Regions from separate parts of the Homo sapiens genome. Here all the other regions are linked to region 1. The links are contacts of gene promoters, found by promoter capture Hi-C in blood cells and fetal thymus (Javierre and others, 2016). All regions are on one chromosome and are shown on one strand. Each heading gives the region's core, a stretch centred on a gene start or on the middle of the fragment in contact. The rest is flanking DNA. Distances are from core to core; before and after follow the strand shown.

Region 1 (2,700 bases), core at 58-2,557:
GTTTACAGGTTACTCTGTCACAAAATACTTTGTTAATTCACTACCCCGCAGCAACACACATCACCAAGGCTGGCTTCTGGAATGCTTTCTACTTGTAGCCATTTTTGAACAATAGGTGATTCCGCTTTTAACAACACTGTTAGAATATAATGTAGCGAGTTTTACCAGAGATGTTTAAGACTACCTGGCACAAGTAAATTTCATTGTATACATGTATATACACGAGGGAGGGTGATCATAGTCTAGAAAAAAACAGGTCTTCAGAAGTCTAGAACTTTAATAACCTTAAATCCAAATTATTCCCTGCGTCCATCCATAATGAGAAGGAAGAAATCTACACTTGCATTTCTTCCACCTTTCACATCTTTCTCATTTAAATCCTACTGTACTTGATTTGTGTTGTTCCCAACGTACTAGGTGCTATGCATGACGTAGAAACGTGTTTCCTTATATGTATGTACTAGCAGGCTCCTTCAAGCACATGCCTAAGGTTGAAAGATTCAAATATAATTATAGCCTCTTAAATTATTGCGTCAGAGCCCGCCCTATCCCCTCAGAAAAAGCCCCCTTTTACACCATCAAATGAAATATCAGGTTATTTGCACTGGATATTTTTTAAAAGAAAATATTTGATTTTAAAATCAAAGAGTTCTTGGTTTTCCATCATTTCACTAATTGTCTTACTAGAGACCCGAGTCTCCTTTGTCAAAATATATTTCAGTACGCATTTTAAAAAATATGTGTGTGTGTATACTTAAATATATATATATATAAAGTCTTGGACTTATTTTCACCTAGCCTGGGGCATATCGTGGATAGTTTCAATCGACAAAACAGGCACTCTCTGGCCTAGGAGTGGAATCCATCCTCAATTTTCGCAGGCTCCTCACAATTCTCTATTTGGAAGAAGTGTCCCTCTCCTTCCCTTTTCTTTTCCTCCTTTACTCAGCGTCAGTCCCCGCAGCCATCTCCTCCGACCCTTTTTGTCTACGTCCCAGCGTCGCGAACCACAGCGGCGGAGGTGGAGCGGGGAGAGGCGTTAGGCCGGGCGGCTAAAACGCGCCGTTAAAGTGGGGGAGAGATTGCGCGGAGCCCACGCGATCCCTGGGACGCCGGAGACAACGGGGCTCTTGGGAAGGCGCGGAGCCCGGGGAAGCCGGGGATGTGCGCGTGAGCCGTGCCCGCAGGGTCTCCCCGCCTCCGCCACCTTTCTTGGGTGGCTCTCCGCCTCGTCCTCCCTCCGAGGGCCGTTGGTACATTCCTAGTGACTCCAAGCGCTTAAAAGGGGCCCGGGAGGATGAACCCCACAGATCTGAACCTGATTTGTGTGTGCACCGCGTCTCCAGCGATCCCGGATCCACTGCGCTGCCAGGGGCCTGGGGGTGGGTCTCTTGCTGTCTCTGCGACGACATCCTTACGTTTCGGCACTCTAATGCTGGGTTTGTGCGTGTGTGTCTGCTTAGCGGTCTAGCGGGCTGTTAGGCTCCCTCGCCCCCAGCTCCTTGGCTCGCTCAGCTCCTCCACCGCAGCCCAGCAGTGAGACGCGCGCGCAGCCAGCTCCCCACGAGATGGAACAGACCGAAGTGCTGAAGCCACGGACCCTGGCTGATCTGATCCGCATCCTGCACCAGCTCTTTGCCGGCGATGAGGTCAATGTAGAGGAGGTGCAGGCCATCATGGAAGCCTACGAGAGCGACCCCACCGAGTGGGCAATGTACGCCAAGTTCGACCAGTACAGGTGAGCGCGCTGCAGCTTCAATGCCAGGCGGCGCCCACTCGCCCCGTCTGAGGAGGAATGGACGTGGGGGACGCAGCCCAAAGTGACTGGCTCGGGAAGCTCGGGCCGCGCTGCGTCCGCCGCTCGCCCCCTCGCTGGCCAGCCGCGGGGCTGGCACGACTCGCTTGGGGCTCCGCGGCCACAGCGCAGGCGGAAGGTGGATCCTACTGGCCTTGCTGACCTCCGGCCGGGAACGGCGGACAGGCGCCGGGAAGGGAGGCCACCGCGCGTCTGCGAGATTTTCTGTTCTCTTCTCTCCCGCAAACCCCTCTGCTTCTAAACCACCAGTCCTCCTGCCCCTGGCCTCGGGAGCAATGCCCACACTCCCAAGCCATCGTTAACCCCGGGCGCGGAGATGCGGAGAGACCGCACTCAGGTTCGGGCCCTCCTGACACCTTAAGGAACCGTCTGGCCGGACTAGCAGAGGGTGCTCCCAGGGGAGCACTACATCAGCCATCGGGAGAAGTGTGTGATGTTGAAGAAGACAAGTCACCCGCGTCAGTTCTCCATCACTGCGCCTTCGGTCGCCTGCAACCGGGCACCTTATAGCAAGCATTTTTACTCATGTAAAATAGCGTCTTGTGGCCGTCAGCTGCCACTACGGAATTTCTGCTGTTCCCTTTCCCAAACCAATTTAACTAACTTCCCCGACTGTGGGTTTATTCAAATCCACTGCCAAGTTTCGCAGATTAAATATTCGACCGTCGTTTTTTTCAGCCCCCAAATGATCTGATTTATCTTATCCTTGCTTCTGACGATCTGTAATGTAAATTAAAGACCCCTACTTCCCAGATGTACTTGAGTGAGGTGCCCTGGTAAGCTGGCTTTTTTGCAGCCCCGGCTTGGTGATTAAGTCGAATCTCTCTACCAATCCTCCGGGGCCAGAGGTAAAATTTAATCACCCCGAAGTGTGAGAGGTTCTA
Region 2 (2,700 bases), core at 21-2,520, 290 kb after region 1:
TAGATAATAAAATATGCACTTTAAAACATTAATGAAAAATACGAAGAGACCATGGATTAGTTTGAATTTCTTCTGGTGACTTTGGATGTCTTTTTACACCTAATTTGGTCATGTCATTTATTCAATAAGTTTAATATCAGATACTAGTTTTAGGTACTGGGGGAATTTTTTTTTCTCGTTTGTAAACCAAGTATGTCCTACTTAGGAACTTAAAGCTTCCTGCTTTTCTTTAGGTTCTAAAGTGCATATATATATTACATTATATTTTGGTCCCTCAATGTATGTTATTTCTTTTTTTCTCTCTCTCTTTAAGGTAATACTGCATTGCATGATTGTGCAGAATCTGGAAGTTTGGACATCATGAAGATGCTTCTTATGTATTGTGCCAAGATGGAAAAGGATGGTTATGGAATGACTCCCCTTCTCTCAGCAAGTGTGACTGGTCACACAAATATTGTGGATTTTCTGACACACCATGCACAGACCAGCAAGACAGAACGTATTAATGCTCTAGAGCTTCTGGGAGCTACATTTGTAGACAAAAAAAGAGATCTGCTTGGGGCTTTGAAATACTGGAAAAAGGCAATGAACATGAGGTACAGTGATAGGACTAATATTATTAGTAAACCAGTGCCACAGACACTAATAATGGCTTATGATTATGCCAAGGAAGTGAACAGTGCAGAAGAGCTAGAAGGTCTTATTGCTGATCCTGATGAGATGAGAATGCAGGCACTATTAATCAGAGAACGTATTCTTGGTCCTTCTCATCCTGATACCTCTTACTATATTAGATATAGAGGCGCTGTCTATGCAGACTCTGGAAATTTCAAACGATGCATCAACCTATGGAAGTATGCTTTGGATATGCAGCAGAGCAATTTGGATCCTTTAAGCCCAATGACCGCCAGCAGCTTATTATCTTTTGCAGAACTATTCTCCTTTATGCTACAGGATAGGGCTAAAGGCCTGCTGGGTACTACTGTTACATTTGATGATCTTATGGGCATACTTTGCAAAAGCGTCCTTGAAATAGAGCGAGCTATCAAACAAACTCAGTGTCCAGCTGACCCATTACAGTTAAATAAGGCCCTTTCTATTATTTTGCACTTAATTTGCTTGTTAGAGAAAGTTCCTTGTACTCTAGAACAAGACCATTTCAAAAAGCAGACTATATACAGGTTTCTTAAGCTGCATCCAAGGGGAAAGAATAACTTCAGCCCTCTTCATCTGGCTGTGGACAAGAATACTACATGTGTAGGGCGGTACCCTGTTTGTAAATTTCCATCTCTACAAGTTACTGCAATACTGATAGAATGTGGTGCTGATGTGAACGTCAGAGACTCGGATGACAACAGTCCCCTGCATATCGCTGCTCTTAACAACCATCCAGACATCATGAATCTCCTTATTAAATCAGGTGCACATTTTGATGCCACAAACTTGCACAAACAAACTGCTAGTGACTTGCTGGATGAGAAGGAAATAGCTAAAAATTTAATCCAGCCTATAAATCATACCACATTGCAGTGTCTTGCTGCTCGTGTCATAGTGAATCATAGAATATATTATAAAGGGCATATCCCAGAAAAGCTAGAGACTTTTGTTTCCCTTCATAGATGATAACTTGACTGTATTTTAGCACTGTTAAAGCACGAATTGGTAACAGTTGTTTCATAAATGAGCACTGTTGTGATAACACCAGCATTCATTTAGCTTGATTGATATCATTGTGCTCTCATTGGCTAAAGCATTATAAGCATCAAATTTACAACATTGGTTTCCCAATATTTAATATAAATATACCATATAATATATTGTTTGTGAATTATTGAGAAATGTAACATTCAAATTTCTAAAATTGTCTGCCAAAGGCTTATTCATTCTGGTTTTGTTTGCTGTTGGGTGTTTGGGGCAGAGTTAACCATTTCTCCATGGTGTCTTTATACTTTACTGGTTTGTGAATTTTATACAATTGAAAGTCTTTTTTTCTTGCTTCTTTCTTCTCTTCTCAAGTTTCCCCCCTGTTTCTACTTTATTGTTTGTCCTAACCATTTCTACTACAGTTTTTTCCTTATGGACCCATACTAGGTTGTACAAACCTTAAGGACTCGTTACCATTTGCAGTTACCATAAGTGCTTTATCTTCTCTATGCACAGGCTTAAACTTGACTGTTGTATGTTAGCATATTTTCTATGCAGCAGTTGGTCAACTTCAACTCAAAACACTGTTTTCTTATGTTTGTTACAAACTTAATTTTTTGAAAGTACTCTGTAGCATGACAATTTTTAGAGCTGCAGGTTAGCTATTATAGCTCAAGCTTTTTTGTTTGTTTTTTTCTTCACTTTCTTCACATCTGAGGTTTCTTTCTCTAATCCACTGAAATTATTGTGTGCTAAATTTGGGAAACAGATCTATTCTAACTCATTAACCCAGTTGAAATTTAGGTCTGTCATCTTAATATATCATGCAGTAAAAGGAAGAATCTTTTTAAAGTGACCCACCTTTCATGCTGCTCCAGCATTGTCCTGCTTGTGCTGATGGTGTGATTAGGTGTAGAGAATTTGCTTAAATTTAACTTCAAAGTTCATCACACAGCTTAATGAGTCACATTGAAATACTCAGTAATTGAACTGCAAATCACTTTTAGTTACAAAAAGAGCTAAAGCATGTCAGTGGCATGATGCTTGCCAAGCCAG
Region 3 (2,700 bases), core at 143-2,642, 500 kb after region 1:
GCTTCTCTTTGTTATCATCAAATCTGCTGGTATGAGGAAAGAGAGCCATTGTTGGTTGTTAATTGCTGGTGGTGGGGTGAGGGAAGGGTAACACAGCAGACTCCTCTCACTGTCACTTTCCCAGACTTTGAATGAGACTTTGACAGAGCCTTCAATTACTGCAATGCCTGTGATCTCATTAGAAAAATCTTATTAAATCTAAAGAAATAGACCAGAAGAATATCAGATTGGTTTTACCAAAACATTATGCCAACAAAAGTTCCAAAGGCAGATTTTCTGAGGCCAATATAGCTAAAGAACTTCTTGGGCTAGGACAGAGATGTAGCTTGGATTCTTCCTCTATCCTTCCAAAACTCTGGCTTGCCTTTAGACCCTTGTATACTCTCTGGTCATCTAACTGAGTGAAAACAGGAAACACAATCCTATTAAAAAGACCTGGGGATAATGTAAAACTAATCCTACACATATTTAGATGAAGTAACAATTGGTGCCAAGAGGAGGGAAGGTATTTGGGAAAAATGGAGTTTTAAGTCTTTCTTTTAAAAAGAGGCTTTAAAAATACAGGGAAAACTAAAAAATATCTCACTTTTAGCAAAGTACCTTCCAATCACCTATAGAAAGTCATTTTCTATAGAAAATCCCTCTTCCCACCCAAGTTCTGGACCAAATAAAAGGAAGTCAGAGTCAGATAGATGGACAACAAAATGCTTTTCTACAGGTGATTGCTATTTGACTAATTGCAAATGCTGCCACAATCTCTAATTATGGGTTGACATAATTAGAGTTGACAATTACGTGAGACTAAGGAAAAAGTAACATAACTACAGTTAAGCTAAGAGATTGTCAGGTTTTCTCTCACAAATATGTTGCAGCCATCAAAAAAGAATAATCGTGTGCTGATATAGAATTATCTCTAAGATATATTTAAATTTAAAAAGCATGTGTAAACAGTGTATGTATTATGTAAATATTTGTGTAAAAAGAAGATATATGTATATATAAATGCCTACACATGTATTTGCTTATGTAGGAAACAATATCTCTAGAATTATTAAAAAAAAAAAAGAAAAAAAAGAAACCTGTAACAATAGTTACTTCTAGAGAGGGGAATGGATTCCAAGGCAGGGAGGTCAACTAACTCATCACCATACACTCTTTTATGTTTGAATGTGCTGTATAAATGTGTGCATGTGTGTGTGAATGTGTTTGTGTATTTATGGTGAAGCATAGAGAGGTACAGTAGTCAATTCCACACCCTACTGAGAATAGAGTTTCAAATTAAGGATTCAAGTGTAGTGAAAGTAGACACAGTTATCATTTGAAATTAAAGGGAAAGGAAAGCCAAATATTATAAGGCCTATCCTCAAATTGTTTTAAGTTAATGCTCCTCAATCTCGTTTTGGCCCCAAACACATTGAAGGATCCACATTGTTCATGAACAGCCACTCCTCTTAAAGGTGAGTCTCAGTTTAGTGCCACGTACTTCGTAGGTCTAGGACATGTAGCCTTAAACTTGTTCCAGGGGCCATTGGCAGAGAGGGATGGGAGAGTAGAACATTCCCAAAAATGTAATCACAGAATGGTTTGCTTTAAAGGAACATATCCTTAGAAAACTATTAGACAGGCTTTTGAACCATTATTGTTTTGTGTTCCCCTATTATAACTAAGATAATTTCTACATATTATTTCTCTCTCTCTCTCTCTCTCTCTCTCTATATATATATATATATATATATATATTCTGCTTAGTGCCATCTTGCCAGCTAATGCATTTTGCATTAAAATGCTTCGATCAGCCTCAGCTAAACCCAATATAGGATCCTGTTTCTTTCCCATCCTGATCTAAAGGGTAGCATATGAAAACCTTGGGGAAGGAGAGGGGCAATACTATCCTTTGGTGATTCTGATACCAAGTCCAATTTAACATCTATACTTACTCATTCAGGCAGCCATTCTTGGTGAATAAATTGTTCAGAATCAAATATCAAACTGGTGGCCCATTGGGTCATTATAGCCTTCTACCTGAGGGGGAAATTAAACTGAATCAAAGGAAAGTTTCACCAGATTCTTCTCAATGTACTAAAAAGAACAAAAACTACCATAACAATTCTAAGAATTTGTGATCCTAGTATAATACAGCCATGACTTACTGGGACATAACTGAACACTTTATAGAGTGACACTTTCCAAAGATTCTTGTGAGCTTTTACTTAAATTTTTCCCATAAATTTACTAATTACCCTTATCAAAAGGAAATTCATGACATAGCTCAATGCTAAGAGTCCAGGGAACAAAGTAAAGGCTGGAAATAGTGACCTGGTTTCACTAGAAATTGCAGGAAAGTACTGGTTTATAGGTCACTGGTTTTTTTGTGCCAGAAATGTCTGACTAAATTAGGTTACATCCTGCAGGCCCTTCACCTGTCTCTCACGTAAATAACATTACCCAAGGGTGTCCTCTCAGCCCTACTCATGACTGGCACAAAGACATTTCAGCCCACATAAATTACCTTTTTTCTGGTTTTGTGAGAAACTTGGTTCCCTCAAATGGTTGTGATATGAAAATTCGCTCAAAGCCGAAGGTGAATGATAAAATAAAATGGGCTCTAAAAGGACACTTCTACATCTAAATTCAAGAATTCTATGGTTCTAGGATATAGTATAAAAATTAATGGAATCTGTTTCACATAAGCAAGCAGAT

Evidence for each region. Contacts are between HindIII fragments. The CHiCAGO score rates a contact against its expected background, and 5 or more counts as called.
Region 2: a fragment that was not itself captured here is called in contact with the fragment with the promoter of CDO1 in region 1 in 1 of 17 cell types (total CD8 T cells); the score reaches 5.7 in total CD8 T cells.
Region 3: a contact is called between a fragment that was not itself captured here and the fragment with the promoter of CDO1 in region 1, in 10 of 17 cell types (monocytes, total CD4 T cells, total CD8 T cells and 7 more). The highest score is 9.0, in monocytes.

What each region holds. Positions count from the first base shown.
Region 1 is chr5:115,815,266-115,817,965 of GRCh38, reverse strand. CDO1 (cysteine dioxygenase type 1) reads left to right here and starts at 1,307. Exons shown (of 5, transcript NM_001801.3): 1 at 1,307-1,738. The coding sequence starts at 1,569. LOC124901049 (a long non-coding RNA gene) reads right to left here and starts at 878. Exons shown (of 2, transcript XR_007058908.1): 1 at 795-878. The HindIII fragment of the contact is 6,274 bases long and covers 1-2,700 here.
Region 2 is chr5:115,523,231-115,525,930 of GRCh38, reverse strand. It overlaps FEM1C (fem-1 homolog C), which reads left to right. Exons shown (of 3, transcript NM_020177.3): 3 at 314-2,700. The coding sequence ends at 1,623. Among named protein-coding and RNA genes, the nearest start is that of FEM1C, 20 kb to the left of the region's middle. The HindIII fragment of the contact is 2,106 bases long and covers 218-2,323 here.
Region 3 is chr5:115,313,533-115,316,232 of GRCh38, reverse strand. It overlaps LOC105379129 (a long non-coding RNA gene), which reads right to left. Exons shown (of 5, transcript XR_948684.3): 2 at 1,938-2,022. Among named protein-coding and RNA genes, the nearest start is that of CCDC112, 18 kb to the right of the region's middle. The HindIII fragment of the contact is 4,611 bases long and covers 1-2,700 here.